4 separate regions of the Homo sapiens genome follow, and regions 2, 3 and 4 are each linked to region 1. The links are contacts of gene promoters, found by promoter capture Hi-C in blood cells and fetal thymus (Javierre and others, 2016). All regions are on one chromosome and are shown on one strand. Each heading gives the region's core, a stretch centred on a gene start or on the middle of the fragment in contact. The rest is flanking DNA. Distances are from core to core; before and after follow the strand shown. Region 1 holds the start of ANKRD6 (ankyrin repeat domain 6). Region 2 has its middle 23 kb from the start of RNGTT. Region 3 overlaps MDN1 (midasin AAA ATPase 1). Region 4 overlaps MDN1 (midasin AAA ATPase 1).

What was found. Contacts are between HindIII fragments. The CHiCAGO score rates a contact against its expected background, and 5 or more counts as called.
Region 2: a fragment that was not itself captured here is called in contact with the fragment with the promoter of ANKRD6 in region 1 in 5 of 17 cell types (naive B cells, total B cells, neutrophils and 2 more); the score reaches 7.3 in naive B cells.
Region 3: a fragment that was not itself captured here is called in contact with the fragment with the promoter of ANKRD6 in region 1 in 1 of 17 cell types (M2 macrophages); the score reaches 5.3 in M2 macrophages.
Region 4: a fragment that was not itself captured here is called in contact with the fragment with the promoter of ANKRD6 in region 1 in 1 of 17 cell types (M1 macrophages); the score reaches 5.7 in M1 macrophages.

The regions. Positions count from the first base shown.
Region 1 is chr6:89,431,885-89,436,599 of GRCh38, reverse strand. ANKRD6 (ankyrin repeat domain 6) reads right to left here and starts at 3,448. Exons shown (of 16, transcript NM_001242809.2): 1 at 3,225-3,448. LOC124901360 (a long non-coding RNA gene) reads left to right here. Exons shown (of 2, transcript XR_007059675.1): 1 at 1-3,183; 2 at 4,013-4,715. RefSeq lists a silencer at 3,177-3,656. The HindIII fragment of the contact is 1,573 bases long and covers 2,648-4,220 here.
Region 2 is chr6:88,984,503-88,989,702 of GRCh38, reverse strand. No RefSeq gene overlaps it. Among named protein-coding and RNA genes, the nearest start is that of RNGTT, 23 kb to the right of the region's middle. The HindIII fragment of the contact is 4,992 bases long and covers 461-5,200 here.
Region 3 is chr6:89,713,184-89,718,153 of GRCh38, reverse strand. MDN1 (midasin AAA ATPase 1) reads left to right here. Exons shown (of 102, transcript NM_014611.3): 44 at 1,345-1,504; 45 at 2,385-2,501; 46 at 3,403-3,611; 47 at 4,858-4,970. Among named protein-coding and RNA genes, the nearest start is that of LYRM2, 77 kb to the right of the region's middle. The HindIII fragment of the contact is 2,343 bases long and covers 1,391-3,733 here.
Region 4 is chr6:89,750,865-89,755,750 of GRCh38, reverse strand. MDN1 (midasin AAA ATPase 1) reads left to right here. Exons shown (of 102, transcript NM_014611.3): 21 at 1,521-1,668; 22 at 2,129-2,239; 23 at 4,169-4,320. Among named protein-coding and RNA genes, the nearest start is that of MDN1, 66 kb to the left of the region's middle. The HindIII fragment of the contact is 4,147 bases long and covers 1,237-4,886 here.

The sequences.
Region 1 (4,715 bases), core at 2,199-4,698:
AATATAAACAGAATCATACAATATTGTCCCTTCTGTGACTAACTTATTTCACCTAGCATAATGTTTTCAAAGTTTACTATTTTGGACCCCCTGACTGGGTGTTTTGCAACTATAGCAAATTAAAATGGGCAATGTAGAAAATCTGAAAATTTCAATGGAAACTAGTATACCAAACATGTCTGGACACTGCTGAACCTATTAACTGGAGGTAGTTTGCAGTTTCAACAGTAGATCATGTTACATTCCTATCCAAGACAATACATCTTTGCAAAGCTGGGTTTTCTGTGGCTGCTGTGATAAAAGCCAAATGCTGCGGAAATATTAATGTGAAACAGGAAATGAGAGTGGCAGTGTCCAACACGATCCCAAGGTTTGAAAAGTAGTATAGGCACACACATACGGTTAGTAATTATGACTTTAAAGGATGTAAAATATTTTTTCTCTCAGTTTATGTATATTATTTTTTCAAACAACTTCTAAGTAAATACTCAGTTGTTTGAACCTAACTACTAACTACTGAAACCTAAGGGAATTGTGAAAAAATTACTAACTACTGAAGCCTAAGGGAATTGTGAAAAAATTAACTCAGACACTAAGGGCTCCATGAAACCAAGTTTCAGAATCTTTGCCTTAACCAAGAAGTAACAAAACAGTGTAAGATTCACCAAGGAAAGCCATGTGACCTTGAAGAAATAAAACAAAGACAATAACACAAACATATCAACCAGGAAGAGGAATTTGGGTTGTTAAAACCATTTTTAAAGGTCACTCTTAGCTTAATCCTTCAAATCCCACACAATGCCTTCTGGATAATTTGCATTTTTAAAAAAACTTCTAAAACGCACGCACCCAAATTACTGTTTTCCCACTTCTTAGGGACTCAAGCAAAGCTTTTAAAATCACAGCCATCAATCTATGTTGGAAGAGACTGGGTCTCCCCTACACAGACAGAACACACCTTCGGGATCCGTGCCAGGGAGACAGGAGAAACTTGGAAGAAGACAGAGACTAAAAGATCCCCCGACTTTGAGACTTTCGGCTTTTTTGTGGTTTGTATCTTACCCTCAATAGCCTGCTTTTAAGTTCAATAACAATGCTCCTTGAGAAAAAAAGAAAAATAAAGAATGCTCCAGGTTATTGTGGAAATGCTTGTTGGGAAACTTCCTTTCCTCAGGGTTTTTCATATAAGCAAGGGAAAAAGTTAACACAACATCCAGAATAGTGGTTCCTTGGGTGGGAGGCGAGAAGTGAGTGGAAGGCAATGGAGAGGGGTACTCAGGGGCTCCAGGGGCCTGGCGATGTTCTAGTTCTTCAGCCGGGTGACTCGTACTTGGGTGTGATCTATTGTTATTCTTTACATTGCACTCTAAGGTTTATACTGTCTGAGTGTATGATGTATTTCACAGTGGCAGCACCAGCATCTCTATACAAGAAGGAGGCCTTGGGAGTTGGAAGTGTGCCTTGTCTCTAAGCTGAGTTGGATCGCAGGCAGTCTGCTTTTACATGGAGCATATGCTTATCTGGAAAGGCTTTGGGGAGGCTGATGAGTTTAAGTGGGAGACTAAGATTAATTTTTGGTGCCACCATGAAAAAACAAGGAGTTAATAAATTCACATTTTTAAAAATTACCATTGGTTTATACCTCCCAACACTGCGACTAGTTGTTTTCTGGTCTCTTTAATTCCTCTTCATCCCTCTTCTACCCTTCCCCCATGTCCAGTATGACCTAGAGGGCAGAAAATACTCCCCAATTTTAATTTGTATCCCTAATTTTTAAAAAATTTTTTGTTACCATATGCTAAACAAATACTAAAGATGACAAAGTGTAACATGTATCGGTATAGACACACCTACTACACTCAAGAACAAGGCTGCAGACCAGTACAGTGGCTCACACCTGTAATCCCAACACTTTGGGAGGCTGAGACAGGAGGAGTTCGAGACCAGCTTAGGCAACACAGTGAGACTCTGTCTCTAGTAAAATAAAAAAATTCAAAATTAGCCAGGTGTGGTGGTCCCAGGCTGAGGTGGGAAGATCGGTTGAGCTAAGGAGGTCAAAGCTTACAGCCTGGGCAACAGAGCGAAACTCTGTCTCAAAACAACAACAACAAAAACCCCGCCAAGGCTGCTATTGGTGTTTTGGGGATGAGAAACCCCCAATCAGTATACCATGGATGGGACCACCTTGGACCCAGGTGTGTTTGTCTTCATTGCCCAAGTTCTTTCCACTTACACTGGCCTAACAGAACCTAAGCATGAATGAATTCAACATCCAACAGGTTCGCAAAAGGTGTCTAACACACAAGAGTACAATGCCAAGCATTTCATTCCCATCACTTCACTGCATGAACACAATACTACGAGGTTATGTACAATACCTGCAGTTTAGAGTTCTAAAAACTAAGGTTTAAAGAAGTGGGTTTTCCAAAGTCACACACCTAACAAGTGGTGGAGTCAGAACTCCATCTCACGGGCCCGAAGTGGCTCTTTACTACCACGTGACCCATCTCATGCTACCTCGCGGGGGAAACATTCTTGACCAGCTTTGAGACATTCAAGTCCCTCTTGGGTCACAAATAATGCTGCACTTCCCCTCCAGTCCCCGAGATCTACCGGAAGCAACACACTTAAAAGCCCAAGATAAGCTTGGGTGAGCTGATGTCTGGACCCAAACCAGACAGCACGCCGACTCTCTGGACCCCGGGAGATGCCACTTGCTGAGGCTTCGCCGATGGGGCTCCTGAGGGGTATCGGCCCCTCTCCTGCGACTGCACCCTAGTGCTGTCGTCCAGGGCGGGGAGGGACGGGGTCATTCGGAGGCGGCCGCAGGCCAGGGACCTACCCTCCTACGCGCCGCAGACCGCGGGGTACTCGGACCCCCGCCCCCACCGCCCTTCCTTCAAACTGCAAGCGAGCAGGAGAACGAGGGACGAGCCCCAGAAGAAAGTTCTCCACCTCCCTCGCCCGAAGTTCCATATTCCAGGGAGGCAACTGATGCCAGGCGAAGAGGGAGGCGCCCCGGGGGGACCCCCTCGCGCCGGGCGTTTTCGGAGGCCGCAGGCCAGGGGGCGAGGCGCGGTGTCCGGGTCTCCTCCGCGGGCAGTCGGCGATCCTGGGGTGCCGAGGGAGCAGCGCCCCCTTCCCCCGACAGCGTCCTCCCCGACCTGAGGCGCCCACCCCGGTGTAAGCGGGGGTCCCAGGGAGCCGGCGAGGTCGCCTGGTACCTTTCTCTCCCGCGCCGGACGTCCGCGCCGCAGGGACCAAGGCCGGCGACACGGTGGGGGGCGAGGGGCGAAGACGGGGACTGGCTCCCGCTGGCTCCGGCGGCCCCAGGGCCTCGGCGCCGCCCAGCGCCGTGCCTCCAGCCGCCCGCGCGCCAGGCAGCGCTCTCGGCTCCTGCGGGTTACCTGTGGCCGAGCCCGCCGCGTCCGCCGCCGCAGGGCCCTCTGCCCCGTCCCGCCGGCCCCGCCCCACCCCTGCCGGCGGCTCCTACGCCGGTGCCGCAGCGCCTCCCAGCGGCGAGCCGGGGCACGGCAGGGACCCTCGCGAGAGAGAGGTGGCACCGCGGAGGCCCTGGGGCTGGCCCCGATCTGCAGCCCTCTCCTGGGTGGGGCCACCGCCTTCTGAAGAGTGGGAGGAAGGGGGCCTATAGTAGGGTGAGGTTTTCCGCGTGGGGGTTGCCAGGAAGTGTATTGGGAGGGGAGGAGAATTAGCAGGAGGAACCTCCCACCTTCACTCAATTCGTGGCCAAGTGGATATTTCAATATAACCATAGCTCACTTAACTGGGGCTGCTCAGTACAAACTGAACAACAATGATGAATGACCCAGATTTATTGGGGTAGCTGGAGAGGGGAAAGGAAGCCTTTATTTCTAACAGCTTGACTATAAGTATCTTGTTGGAATCATCCCATATGGAAATGGCAAAAGCATTGAGCGAGCCTGACCCCCATATTCATATCACACTTTACATACCATTATCTCAGTCTGGTTTTGTCTATTTTCATTCACAGCCACTTCTTCAATACCTAGAAGAGCTCCCTGAACACAGGAAGCATTCAATAAGCTACTGTTGAATACATGTAAGATGGATGGGATCTCATTCCACCCTTTGAAGAAGCATGGACAGGTATCTGCTCTCCAAAGGCGGAGAGATGGAAGAGGAGGCAAGCAGCACCCTAAAATGGACTATCAATCTTACCTGAGGTTTTGGGACAAGCTTATCACGAATCTGATTTTTTTTTCTTTCTTGCTTAAAATTTTTTTTTGAGACGAAGTCTCACTCTGTCACCCAGGCTGGAGTGCAATGGCACCATCTAGGCTCACTGCAACCTCCGCCTCCCAGGTTCAAGTGATTCTCCTGCCTCAGCCTCCTGAGTAGCTGGGATTACAGGTGCCCGCCACCATCCCTGGCTAATTTTTGTATTTTTAGTAGAGATGGGGTTTCACCATATTGGTCAGGCTGGTCTCGAACTCCTGACCTCGTGATCCTCCAGCCTCGGCCTCCCAAAGTGCTGGGATTACAGGCATGAGCCACTGCACCCAGCCGACTTTTCTTATTCCCTCTGAAACAGGCCTGGTTTCCAGGAGAAAAGAAACATGATGATTTCTTCCTTTTCCTTAAGATGTTTGTTTCCCTCTCTCCTTCAGGGATCATTAGGCAGGAGAGATCCCAAGAGCCTGTTTCCACACTAGGAAGGGGAAGTTCTTGATTTT
Region 2 (5,200 bases), core at 1,707-4,206, 450 kb after region 1:
TTCCACTGAAGAGCACAGAGTTTGAGGTACTTGTCGAATAGGCCAAAGATGGGCTAGGACATGTGAGGTTGATATTGAAATAATTCAGGTACATTTTTATTTCTCTGGTTTTGATTTGCAAGGCAGCAGTGGCAGATTTTAGAAAAAAATAGTTCTTAGAAAACAGCTGATTGGTCCAGGTACTGTTTCTAGGTGACTAGTCCAAGAACTGTTTCCAGGCAGTTGATTGGTCCAGAAGCTGTTTCCAGGCTGCCTAGCCAGTAGATTGCCTTGTCTCCAAGGGTTACTCAATTTACAAAGTGATAACAGGTCTCCAAGGCTTGTGCGGAATTATAATTTTTCCCAGTACAGAAGCTTATTGAAGAAAACACCAGTATTTTAAGGATGACTCACAGGCACACTGTACATTTCTTTGATCCATCTTCCCTAAGGGTTATGCATTGCTTATAATGCAGAAGCTTTCTAAATGATTTTTTCACAAGTCAAGGAGTGGCTGGAGCTATTCTATGAAAAATTTATAGCTGTTAAAAGAGCAACTTTAAACTATTTCATGCAGTTCAACTGTTAGACTATTTCCAGTCTTTTCTTTCCCCTTCTCAAGAGTAGATGCAGCTGTTCTCAGTTTAATATCAGAAGAGAAAGAATGATGTAAACAATGATGGTATAATAATACATGAAGAAAACCAATAAAAGGGTAAAATCACTGCAATCCTATAATCTTAATACTTAACAATTTTTATTTTCACGTAGTTTTCTTCTAACCTAAGGTCAATATTATTTGGACAATGATATACATAAAATTTAAGGCTTAACTGTCAACCATATGTTTAAAAGTACTTTCAGTGCCAGGTGCGGTGGCTCACACCTATAATCCCAGCACTTTGGGAGGCTAAGGTGGGAGAATTACTTGAGGCCAGGAGTTTGAGGCCAGCTTGGCCAATATGGTGAAACCCTATCTCTACTAAAAATATGAAGATTAGCCAGGTGTGGTGGCATGTGCCTGTAATTCCAGCTTCTTGGGAGGCTGAGGCATGAGAATCGCTTGAACTCGGGAAGCAGAGGTTGCAGTGTGACAAGATCGCACCACTACACTCCAGCCTGGGCGACAGAGCGAGACTCCATCTCAAAAAAAAAAAAAAAAAAAAAGAGAGAGAGAGATTTTTAGTTGATTTATAGTGGCTAATCACATTTTTTAAAAAAGTATGATATAACATGATTTGTGAGCAAAATTAATGTTTTTATCTTCAGATTCAATGAATCTTCTGAGCAGCACACACACACATATGCTGGACATTCATTTTACTAATTATCTCATTAAAAAAAAAACAAAAATAAACATTTGTGGAGAAGCCCCATTTTGGCAGTCTGTGTTATAAGGACTGGAGATACGGCTGGGATGAAAACAGACAAAATCCTCTTTCTCTAGAAGGGAAAAATAGGCTATAACAATCACAGCAAACACAAAATGGTTTTTTTTCCATGTGCTTTACATGTATAAACTCATTTAGTTCTCCTAACCATCCCATGAAGTAGGTGCTATCATTATCTCCATTTTATAGGGGAGGGAACCAGTGCACAGAAAGGTTAAGTAACTTGATGAAGTTGCACAGCTAGTGAGCATTAGAGCTAGGATTTGAACCCAGGCATGTGGCTCCACAGGCTACACGCTTAACTGCTATGCTATTCTTTCTATAATTAGCTCCTCTATTCTATGTATTCTGGTGACACAAGGAACCAAAAGTTTTCCTTTTCCTTTCTCAAATATTTTCAGTTTTTGCTTCAGATATTTAACTATTTGAACGCTAGGGCCAGGTGTGGTGGCTCTTGTCTGTACTCCTAGCACTTTGGGAGGCCCAGATGGGAGGATGGCTTGAGCTCAGGAGTTTGAGGCCAGCCTGGGAAACATAGTGAGACCTTGTCTCTACAAAAAATTTAAAAAGCTAGCTGGGTGCATTGGCATGCACCTGTAGTCCCAGCTACTGGGGAAGCTGAGGTGGGAGGATCACTTAAGCCCAGGAGGTAGAGGCTGCAGTGAGCTGTGAATGAGCCACGGCGCTCCAGCCTGGGCGACAGGCAAGACCCTGTCTCAGAAAAAAAAAAAAAAAAATCCAGACACTTAAAATCACAGTTGCTCTTAAAAGCATAGCTTTGATTTAGATTGACCTGGAATAAGTTCCATGTCTGTCACTCAGTAGCTGTGTGATTATGAGCAAGTTTCTAAATCTCACTAAAGTTCTCTTTCCTCATTAGTAAATGAAAATAATCGTTTACCTCCTAAGGCTGTTGTGAGAATTGAGGATAATATGCATGAAAATCATTTGATCCTGGCACAAAGTAAGTGCCCAATGAATGGTTACTTTTATCCAGTCATACATTCATTCAATCAGCAAATATTTGTTGAGCATCTGCTATGTTCCAGGTATTGTTCTAGGTACCGGGGATATAGCAGTGAGTAAAACAGACAAAGATCTTGCTCTCAAAGCAATTCCATGGCTTTTTAGCCTTAATAAAATGTGCTTAATCTTATTAAATTTGTTTATATTAATTAAATTGTAGTTTAAATTTCTATTTATTTTTTAATTAAATTGTGTGGTATATAGTTATTTAAATGCATTTAATATTATTTTTAAAGCATTAGTAAAGTTTGTTTAATCAGTTATTCCCTCTTTTCTCCACTGGCTTTTTGTCATAGTCACTTAAATGTAATCAAATTTCTTTTATATTTATTTCTTTTCTTTTTTTTTTTTTTTGAGATGGAGTTTCGCTCTTGTTGCCCAGGCTGGAGTGCAATAGCATGATCTCGGCTCACCACAACCTCCGCCTCCTGGGTTCAGGCGATTCTCCTGCCTCAGCCTCCCGAGTAGCTGGGATTACAGGCATGCGCCACCATGCCTGGCTAATTTTGTATTTTTAGTAGAGATGGGGTTTCTCCATGTTGGTCAGGCTGGTCGTGAGCTCCCAACCTCAGGTGATCCACCCGCTTTGGCTTCCCAAAGTCCTGGGATTACAGGTGTGAGCCACTGCACCTGACTTATTTCTTTTATTTATTTATTTTTGTTTTTTAATAGAGACAGGGTCTCGCCATGTTGCTCAGGCTGGTCTAGAACTCTTGAGCTCAAGCAGTCCTCCTGCCTCAGCCTCCCAAAGTGCTGAGATTACAGGCATGAGACACCATGCCTGGCCACATTTCTTTTATATTAAAAAATCCCTGAATCAACCCTTTGACTTCAAGTTAGCTGACAGTGGCTGCTTTAGTTCCTTGCTCCCTTTGCTATAGATATTATCTCACTCACTGTCTCCACTCTCTAGGTTGACTTCATGACTTCTCATTCATACTCCAGAGCACTGGAAGCAGTCTCTTGTTTCTTGTGGAGAGGTCACGTTATGGCAGGCTGTGTTCTAAGGACTGGAGATATGGCTGGGATGAAAACAGACAAAATCCTCTTTCTCTAGAAGGGAAAAATAGGCTATTGCTGTAAACAATAGGTATCACTCTCAACAAGGTCACCCCCTTCCTTAAAACCATTCAATGACTCCATATTTACCTCAGTGACTCATGTTTACTTGATGAAGTTGCACAGCCCCAGATAAAGTCCAAACTCTTTAAAGTGGCATGTGGGCATGTTCCCTCCCTCCCTAGCCTTCCCTCCCACCATTCCCTTTTCTACCTCCACTCCCTCCCCTGCTCACTGCCCCAAACACACACACACACACAGTTCCCATTCTATAGATGGGCTTGACATTGCCCAGAAGTACCATACTTTTATCTGTAAGCAGTGGTGTTCTAGAGTTGATTTGTGTGGGAGTGTGAGAGCGTATGGTGCATGTCTCTTCCCAATTGCATGTTCAGTGAGGTCATGGTGGGAGTAAATCAAGGAAACTGGCAAAATCTACAAATTAGGGCATTCTTGCTTCTCTCTAGAGAGTTATTAAACATTTACCAGCTCACCATAGCCCCTAGGCCTTTGCATTTATGGCCCTTCCCCTACCCTAACTTGGCCCAGCTTAAATGTCCCTTCCTCCTGGGAACTGTGTTTTGACTCTTCAGGATTGGGATAGATACCCTTCACTGTGATTCTTTGGTAACTTGGGCAGCGGCCCCACTATTTTTCCCGTATTCTATACTGGCCAAGTAAAGTCCTTGAGGTCAGGGCCCTTGTCTTGTTCATTGTTGTTCTTGTCTACCTAGGATAGTGTTTGGCACATAGCAAGGTGCTAAACTATATTTTTAAGTGAACCAATACATGAATAATTAAAGTAAGCCCTCCCTACTAATAATAGGCTTTTTATGGTTCAAGAATGTGCCTTAATCTTTGTATCTCCTGAAATTCCTCACACAGAGAAAGTTTAGTAGATGTTTGAATAGATTGAATGGACTAGACTTGAATGTGCTTTATATGAGCCTAAAACTAGGGCCCAATTTAAGATATCCATTCTAGAAGTGAGTCAATGATATTTGAGATTATGATTCTATAGAACCAAAACCTGGAGTATTGAAATATGTCACCAGAAACTTAAGATTTTCCCTGGCCATTAATTTGCCTTGATTTATTACTCTTATTTCCTTGTTTTTTCTAAGGTGATCCCAAGCTCGTTCCACTTCCTTCTTCCCTCAACCTGGCTTTTCTTTTTGAGACAGGTTCTCACTCTGTCACCCAGGCTGGAGTACAGTGGCGTGATCTTGGTGTGCGCCACCATGCCCAGCTAATTTTTGTATTTTTTTGTAGAGATGCGTTTCGCCATGTTGCCCAGGCGGGTCTGTGACTCCTGGACTCAGCCAATCTACCCACCTTGGCCTCCCAAAGTGCTGGGATTACAGGCATGAGGCACCACGCCTAGCCACCCTATTTTTAATGTACAACTTAGGCATGCTCTTTGCTCACAAAATGATACGCTCATTGAACCATGAGTAGGAAAGCAATGTGGTGCAGTAAGAAGTGCTTGAAACTTAAAGTCAGGAGACACTGGTTGTGTTCCTGTATGTCACAACTTTCTGGTCTTTTCATCTGCAATAAGAAAGATAATATCTTCCCTATCCAATTCACTACATTTTTAAAGATGAAATGAGTTAACATAGGTGAAAATGCTTCTGTAAATTGTAAAGTACTACATAGAGTAAATGCAAATTTCTCAAACAAATTGATCTTCAGCACATGCTATCATTTACTTAATAACTCCCTAGCAAGCAAGTGATATCTGC
Region 3 (4,970 bases), core at 1,313-3,812, 280 kb before region 1:
GTTGCTTTATGGTTTATTTTGTGTGTAATCACCTATAATGATAAAACAGCATGTAAAACTTTTATTATTACTGGCTATTTTTTTACTCAATAATTTCTCAGGAAATTGAGCATTTTTAAACTGAAGAATAGGAGTCTGAATTCATAGGATGTGTTTATTCATTTGTGTGGAGATGGAGGAAATATATCATCCTGTATGCCATCCAATTAACATGGAAATTTCTCTCATTTTGTGGTGCCACTTTCAGAGTGGTGGTGAGCATGCTCTTAGGGAGGATTCAACCTAAAGGCCCACAGGCTGGGTCTGTCACTATGCTTGTCATTCTTTATTTCCAAAGCCTGCTTGTAACTGATTACAAAGTGTTGATTCCTTATAGCCGAAGAAATCAGACATCCCACTTCTTGGCCAGCAAACATTTTATCTGTGGCGGTGGGCCACTCATTTACTTTCTTCATTGTTGATTTGATCTGTCATTTCTCACTTTAAGCCTGCCATTTGAACTTGAAATCCTTTACTCATTCACTCTAATTATAAAAGATATCCGATGCAGTCATGTGTCATATATTTTTAAATGGGTATTGTAAAACTCACCATTGAGTTATGAATTTCTATTATAAACACTATACTGAATATATGTACTTTTAATCACCGTGACAACACTGCATTATAGGAAGGATTATCTACATCTAATAGATGAGGATGTGAATATTCAAAGAGACAAAATTACTTGCCTACAGTTTTACAGTTAGCAAGTGGTTGGACTATGGTATGTTAAGTCTAAACCTCGTTACTCCCTCATCTTTAGAAGTAGAAATCCAATGTGTATTACCTTGTGATATGAAAAATGGTCATAAAACAGTTTCCAACCAAAAAGATCAACTGAAAAATTTCGAGGGAAGGGCTATATAAACTATAAAGCATTTGGCAAGTAATTACCAGTTATTACTATATTACTATAATCATATGATATGCTCATTATAAAGGAAGCCCAGTTTGCACTGTGTGAAGTTATAGCACTTTCATTTAGTATAAATGCACTGATAGGTGGGAAACGTCCTCCTTCTGCCATTTGAGAAACCGTAATACAGAAAAATCATTTGCCACCTCTATCACCCTAGAGTCAACCCTGAGTAGCTATTAATACAGAGAGCCATTAAAACGTATTTTCTGTCTTAAACTTAACTTTCCTATCTGTGTTTAAACAGAAGCAAAACATTCTTCTATTTATTCTTTTATGAAATCTTAAAAACCTTGGCTAGAAGTATCAAGCTTCCTTTTCATAAACTTAATTCTTTGTTTGAAGTTAAGTGCTGTGGATGGTGATTCTTCCCTGTGACATTTCAGAGTTTGCCAAACTTGTTGAAGAGTTCCGAAGCTTTGGTGTGAAGCTTACGCAGTTGGCCAGTGGCCATAGCCATGGCACATTTGAATGGGTTGACAGCATGTTGGTTCAGGCCCTGAAGTCTGGAGACTGGCTTCTGATGGACAATGTTAACTTCTGCAAGTAAGAACCTTATGCCTAATCAGTGGTCCAACTTGAAATTTGGGATATGCTTGTCAAAGTAGAAACCCAGATAGAAGTGCTGGTATTTTGAAGCTACTGTTTTTCTTAATTACGCAAGCGTCCTCAGCCATATTCTGTAGACTTCTCCCTGTGGTGAACAGTGGTAATTCGTCATCAGACAGTTATAAGATTTCAGCTCTGTATGATAATTTTCAGCCAAAGCAAAGGCTAACAAAATTGGATTATTTTTCCTGGCAATGTCCTTTGAGTTAGGCCTTTTAATTTAATATCAGAAGTCTTCCTTTTGTTAGGGTTTCTTCAGTGCAGTTTTTTCTAATGCAGGGTCTGACACAGGGCAGGCATTTATTAAATGGCCATCAGTGATGCAGCAATTCAACCATGTATCATTCTTGATCTTGCAGTAAGGTAAAGGACAAGTGTGAAACTATTGTACATATACAGTTAACATAGAAGCTACTACAAGTTAGATGATGACTATTTCTTCACGGAGCATTTATCTGAATGTTACAAATTGAAATCCAGCTGCCTTAAATGGATTTGATAATGTTGAGGGATGGGGGGCAGGAAAGGAAAAAGTGAAAAGGTTATAGTGCAAGGAACTTATCATTTTCTTTAATTTCATTTATTCAAAAATATCTTGTGTATTTACTGTGTATAAGGCCCTGGGCTATGTGCCTAGGGAAGCGAGAAGGAAAATCAATGGGGAATCTACTTTTGAAAGAGATCACTGTTGTATCTGGGTGAATGATTGTGCCGAAAGGAAATGTGAGTCAAAAGCATTTGGAGCCCCGTGCATGGAAGGAAAGAAGAGTCAATGCAGCATGTCAGCCTATCCACCATCTGAATTCTGTCTCTGCAGCCCATCAGTGTTGGATCGTTTGAATGCTTTGCTTGAACCCGGAGGTGTCCTCACTATTAGTGAGAGAGGAATGATAGATGGATCCACTCCCACGATAACACCAAATCCCAATTTCAGGTATTTGTATCTCTTACATTTCTGCCTCAGAATCTGACAGCCTCAGTAGCAGAGGTAGACGTTCAGTAGGACTTCCTTATATATTTTATTTATAAACTGAATCATGGAGAAGTTCACCCATTTATTAATTCACTTAACAAATACTTACTGAGGCTTTACTATTTGCCAGGCATTGCTGGGCTCTGGAAACACAGCATAAACAAGAGGGGCAAGGTCCTTGCCTTGCATTGGTGACGAAGGTGGGAAGCAGAGATACCAGTCATGATCCTTTTGCAGTAATTTAGGCAACACATCACAGTGGCTTAGATGAGGGTGGTCAGATGGGTTGGTTTGCTGATGGACATGTGGGTTGAGAAAAAGAAGAATCAAGGATGACACCTATGTTTTTGGCTTGAGTAACTGGGTAAATGGGGTTGCCATTCATTGAGAAAGGGAAGACTGGTAAAGGAGCAGGTTTAATGTGGGGAGGGTCTACCGGGAATCAGCTGTTTACTTTCAGACATACATCAGAGGTGTAAGATAACTAGATGGAGATGTTGATGGGCATTCAATATATGAATCCAGTTGTTTCAGGAGACTACACTTGCTTCCTGTTCTGCTGTCTGTAGGTGAGTTAGAATAATGAATTAGTACAGCCTACTCTGGGGAATATCTGAAGGTTAAATTTTTAAAGTTCTCAGCACTAAAGGTACACTGGATATATCATACACAGTTCCTTAGGAAAGTAGGTTTAGAGAAAATCTTTTGCTATATTGATGCATGCTAGAAGTAAAAGATCCTTGGTGTGAATTCTGTGACAATGAGCCACATAGGATTTGCCCTCACTGACTGATGCTGAGCTACACCTTTGGTTGCACTGGGATTTAAAATCATTTTTTTCTTTGAATTGCTATTTTTCTAGACTTTTCCTCTCGATGGATCCTGTTCATGGAGATATATCCCGAGCTATGAGGAATCGTGGACTTGAAATCTACATTTCAGGGGAAGGGGATGCAAGCACCCCAGACAACCTGGATTTGAAAGTTCTGCTGCACAGCCTTGGATTGGTGGGGAACAGTGTATGTGACATCCTCTTGGCTTTACACACAGAGACCCGGAGCACTGTTGTAGGTGAGGTGCTTGACTTTTGGGCCTTTGCAGAGTTTTAGTCTTCAAGAAATTTATGTCATTCCATTGGACTGCTCATCAAAGATTTCGTACATTTAGTGTATATAGAAATTATCAGGAAAGCTTGTTAAAAATGTGGATTTCCAGACACCCCAAGAGATTGGGTTCAGCAGGGCAGGGCAAGGCACAGGAATCAGTATCTGAAAGACGCTTCTTATGTCATTCTGATGCAAGTAAGCAGAGGCTAACCCTCGAGTAATTCCACTTTACGCACTGAGGTTTATGAAGTTTGCCCATCATTTCTCCAGGGTCATCAACAGCCTCTTGAAGTTGGAATAAAGAGGAAACTTTGAGTTGTTTAAAGCAGACAGGTGTTACTTTTTCTAAACTTTCAATTACACAAAAAGGAACAAGATAATAAATGAAGTATTGCTTGTTGGATAACTACTCTGTGTTAGGTACCATGCAGATTGTTTATTTAATCTTTTTTTTTTTTTCTTTTTTTTTGAGACAGAGTCTCACTCTGTCGCCCAGGCTGGACTGCAGTGGCGTGATCTTGGCTCACTGCAAGCTCCGCCTCCCAGGTTCATGCCATTCTTCTGCCTCAGCCTCTCCGAGTAGCTGGGACTACAGGCACCTGCCACCACGCCCGGCTAATTTTTTTTTTATTTTTAGTAGAGACAGGGTTTCACTGTGGTCTCAATCTCCTGACCTCGTGATCCGCCCACCTAGGCCTCCCAAAGTGCTGGGATTACAAGCGTGAGCCACCATGCCCAGCTGTTTATTTAATCTTTACATTAGTTCTGCAAGGCATATGTTTTCATTTTTCAGATAAGACTCAGAGAGTTTGAGTAATTTATCAGTTAATAATAACAGCTGGAATTTGCAAATAGGCCTGTTGGATTTCAAATCCCATGGTCTTTTATGAGGTTACACTCAACTTGCCACCTTCAGTGTGTGTCAGCATTAGATTAAGGATATATGTGACCAGACTTTATCACATCTATAAATGAGTCCCCCATAATAAACTACAGACAGCCATAGAGAAACAGGGGAGATAGGAATACAAAGGTTCCTACAGGTCCTTTGTGCCCTCGGAGGACTCTAGAGTCTACTTGGAATGTTTTGTAAAGTAAGTATTTGGGTGGGGTTGACAGGAAGGAGGTTTGATGGGAGGGCAGAATTTATCCATTTTCATTGGAGATTTTAAAGACTCTATTGTTTATAGATGGCAATTTTTTTTTAATAGGTTCTCCAACATCTTCTGTATCAACTCTAATCCAGACAGCCATACTAATTGTCCAGTACCTGCAGCGAGGGCTGAGTTTAGACAGAGCCTTTTCTGAAGCATGCTGGGAAGTA
Region 4 (4,886 bases), core at 2,061-4,560, 320 kb before region 1:
GTGTCAGACAACCTCAATTCTAGTATTGGTTCTATGAGAAACTAATTGTGTCATTCTGGGCCAGTAACTTAATTGTGTGTTCTCCAGAAAGAAATACAACATGTAAAAGGATTGAAATAGGGTGATATTAATGTTTTACTGTGTGTTTGTGTATTTTTTCTCTTCCTTAATACAAATACTTATTGAGTGCCCTGGTGCTGTGGTTATAGCTATGAGTAAGGCAGACAAAAATCCTGGTTCTTCTCATTGAGCTTTAATTCTAGAGGAGTCAGGTACTGTAATTTTAGGTTGTGATAAGTGAAAACATATAAAGCTGAGTAGGGTGTAAGAAAATGAAGACTTGGAGTTCTATTTTTTTTTTTTTTTTTTTTGGATACAGGAGCTTTGCTTTGTTGTGCAGGCTGGTCTTAAACCCCTGGCCTCAAGTGATACGCCAGCCTTAGCCTCCCAAAGTGCTGGAATTACAGGGTTGAGCTACAGCACCTGGTCCTGAAGTCCTGTATTAAATAGATTAGTCAACAAGGCATGTGTTTAGAATGCTTCAGAATGGTTTACCACAACACACCCTAAATTGGAATACTTTTTGGTAGCCAAGAATATTTGGACAAAAGTGTAAATACGTATAGTTAAGATTCCAGATGCTAAAGGTAAACTTTTATAAGTGCCTTATTTTATCTAAAGAGGTAGATAAAGGATAAAATTAGGCACTTATAAAATACTGATAGTACAAGTAGTATATATTCCATATATTAAAAACTCAGTTCCAAAACATAGGTTCTTTCTACACAAAAATATTTTGAAATATTTTGAAAATATTTTGAAAATATTTGTGTATTTTTGCTATCTACAAAAATATTTTGTTAGGTAGCAAAGAGGCAAGATAAAGCTCATTTGGGCAGGAACTTGAATTTCATCTGTGATGCATGCATACTTGGTTTCATTTGATCTTGTGGTGCTAATTGATCATGAATTTCACAAAGTGCAAGACCTTCATGTTTCAGTCTGAAACTTTTCCCATCCTGTCATCATCTGGACTTCTAAAGTGTGGTAGTGACAATAGTAATGGCCATCGTATCCTCCTGCTTTTTAACGTTTTGTCAGTACTAATTATAGCCATATTCGTAGCCTTTCAAAACACCATGCGTTGTTTGCCATGTCTTTGTTCATCCCCATTTTTGATTGCATAGGAACTTTCTTTGTCCCTTAAGCTTGAACAGACTCTGGAACACAGAAGCTTCTCACCTCTCTTTATCAGTACCTTTTTGCTAGAGGAATTGCACATTGCACTTCCCAGTTTCCCCAAGGAAATAGATAGGTGTTCATTTTTTATTTTGAAAGATATCTCTGAGTATGTGAAAAGTAGGTTTAAAAGAGACTAAGATATTTTGATGCATGCCCCAGGAAGTTGTGTGCATGATCATTTCTGATCTAAAAAATGTCCTTTGGGTTTTCTGTAGAGAATTGATAATACTGGATACTTATTAGTAAATAAAATTGCCTGACCTTTATTCTATTTGTAGCTTCTACACAGCTTTGCGGAAAGAGTCTGGGACCAAACTGGTGGATGGCACTGGCCATAGACCTCACTACAGCCTTCGGACTCTGTGCCGGGCCCTGCGATTTGCAGCCTCCAATCCATGTGGCAACATTCAGCGCTCACTCTATGAGGTCTTTCTGAAGTCTCTTTGACTGGATATGAGCTTAATGGATGGGTTCATGGGAAGGAAGGAATAGGGATGCATATGCCAGGTTGCCTGTGCTTTCCAGTTAGTCAGATCAGCCCATAATACCTCTTACCAGATTTACCTTGCCCTTTTAAATTAAATATTTTACTTTTTATTTTAAAATTTTTATTTTTAATTATACATAGAGACAGGGTGTCACTGTGTTCCCACTCTGGTCTCGAACTCCTGGGCTCAAGCTGTCCTCCTGCCTTGGCCTCCCAAAGTGCTGAGATTACAGGCATGAACCACCGTGCCTGGCCTACCCTTCCCTTTATCTACCACCTTACTATATTTAAAAGTTGGGAAGCAGCATCACCCAAGAGGTTAAATTTTGTTCTGGAAATAAGTTTGGTTGTATTGCAGAAGGTTATTTAGCATTATGCATATTTGTCTTTTCTTTCTAGGGTTTTTGTTTGGGTTTCTTAACACAGCTTGACAGGGCATCACACCCAATAGTTCAGAAGCTCATCTGTCAACACATTGTCCCTGGCAATGTCAAGAGTCTGCTGAAGCAGGTATGTTCTTTTGTTATTTTTGACTTGTTACACTTGAAAGGCTGAATTACCAAATTTTCAGCTGTTTGGTTTTTTTTTTTTCACATAACTTTTTAATTATAAAGGTAATCTGTTGCAAAAAGTTTAAACATTACAGAAACATATGTTTAGATGGTGAAAGTTTCCAATAAGCGTGCTCTTTGGAGATTTAAATACTGTGGATAATCTTTCCAGATAAATTGTATAATGTATATATTTTATTTTCTTACATATCCAAATTTTGATATGTATATGTTGATTTATTGAGGTAAATTGTAAAATTGTAAAAAATTGTAATATGCGTTTAATGTAAGTGGGACTGTCTTATAAGAATATTGTTTTTTTGTTTTGTTTTGTTTTGTTTTTTTTTGCAGATAGAGTCTTGCTCTGTTGCCCAGGCTGGAATGCAGTAGTGTAATCTCAGCTCACGGCATTCTCCCCTTCCGTGGCTGAAGTGATTCTCCTGTCTCAGCCTCCCGAGTAGCTGGGATTACAAGCGCATGCCACCATGCCCAGCTAATATTTGTAATTTTAGTAGGGACTGGGTTCCATCATGTTGGCCAGGCTGGTCTCGAACTCCTGACCTCATGATCCGTCCACCTCGGCCTCCCAAAGTGCTGGGATTACAGGCGTGAGTCACCGTGCCCGGCCCATAAGAATATTCTGTAGCTTTCCTTTTTAACCTATCTGAATCTTGGATATATTTTTGTTTTTGTACCAGAGTTCATTGTGACATGCCTTCTAAGGGCCACATAGCATTTCACTGGATGGGTACACCATAGTTTCACTATTTGCATAGTTTAACTACACAGTTAGGTATAATCTATACCTTCTGATTGATGGTTGGGTCTTTTTTGAGGAGGCAGTAGTGGGGGCACTGTTAGAAACAATAGCCGTTTTGGATTTGGCAGGAAATTACAGAATAGCATGGGACTGAAAGAGGCTGAGAGAAACTTGCTCACAATCAACATGTAAATTGGCTTGTTTACTTGTTGATTGCTTATTCATTAGGAAGAGAGAGCCCTTGGGACTTGGAGTTTCTTTGGACTCAGCCTTTTAAAAAATCGTACAAGTAACACATGCGTAAATACTTTCGGTAAATTGTAAAAACATTGAGTAAAGACTCAGGTTTGCTTTTACCATTATTGTAATCAAATACCAGTCTCTTCCAGTTGGTCTTTTTGTGTGTGTATGCCTCAGGGTGTGATAGAAACTTAAAAAGATCCTTCCTCCCCTCCCCCTATTGCTTCTCAACTCAACTGAGGAGGCCTTAAAAGCAGGGCCTAGACGTGTAGCTTGAAATCTGGGGACCAAATGCTCTAGAAGAGTACTTTTCCATAGTTATAGATTTGACCACCATTTAACCATTTTTTTACTTATAAAAATGGGAATTTGTATAATCGAAACTAATAACTTAAACCATATCTCAGCAAAGTGATGCCATCATCCACAATATTATCCTTAATGGGCTAGTTGCTCTGAAAAGTCAGGTTTACTTTTAATGTCTTCTAGGCAATCCAGAGTATAATAGTGCAAAACCTCCTTCCTTACTACAACACTGGCCCTTTTTCGGGGAACATGGTTTATATGAAATTCATGTTTTTGATAAAAATAATTGGAGTGGGCATTTTGATATGTGAGAGAAGAGAACTGGTACATAAACCTTCTGGGAATTTGTTTTGATTCAGCTTTTTTCCAAACCCACCTACTCCACTTCAGTTTTAAAACCAATATATAACACCATTTTGTTCTCATTCCTCATAATTTTATGTTCATATTTCATCCAGTTTTAATGTTGAAAGTATGCAGAACAAGACAGCTTGTTCAACAAGTGGCTGTTTTCCTACTTTATGCCCTTCTCTGAAAGAATGTACAACTGTGGGTTATTCCTTGAACTTCTGTGTCTTTCAGCCTATTCCAGAGCCAAAAGGAGGTCGGCTTATCCAGGTTGAAGGCTACTGGATTGCGGTGGGAGACAAGGAGCCTACAATAGATGAGACGTACATTCTGACATCTTCTGTGAAGCTGAACCTGAGAGATATAGTCCGAGTTGTCTCTGCAGGGTGTGTGGGCTTTTTTCTCGCTGCCCCGAACTTGATACAGGCATAGGCATTGATGACATTTTGGTCTAACTTCCTTAACTTTCAAAGAGCTTTATTCTTATTCATTGGCCAACTGAACAATTACTTACAAAAGTCAGTACTATAACTTTTTCCTGGTAGAAAACTTTGTTTCTAGTTGTGCAACTTTGGAGGGAGCACTATGGATGCAGATGATTTTATCTATCTTTAAAGTTATCTTTTGTTATTTTGCTGATAAATACCACAGATTATTCAGTAAATGGCTAAAAGTTCTACTTACAGTTTCTTACAAATGTTGCCAGCATAGTTGGAATTGCTTTCCTTAGTATTTTTTGAGGAATAATGTTTACAAAGATACTTCTCAGTGTATAGGAATAAAAATGTTCTTCTGCTTCTTGCATTTTCCAGAAATGTAAAAAGGGGAAAAAAAAGGAAAAAAAAATGCTCTTTTAATGATGCTGTTAAATGATGTCGTCATTCTTTTAAAAAAAAAAAACCAAAATAATACTTGGCCAGGTGCAGTGGCTCATGCCTGTAATCCCAGCACT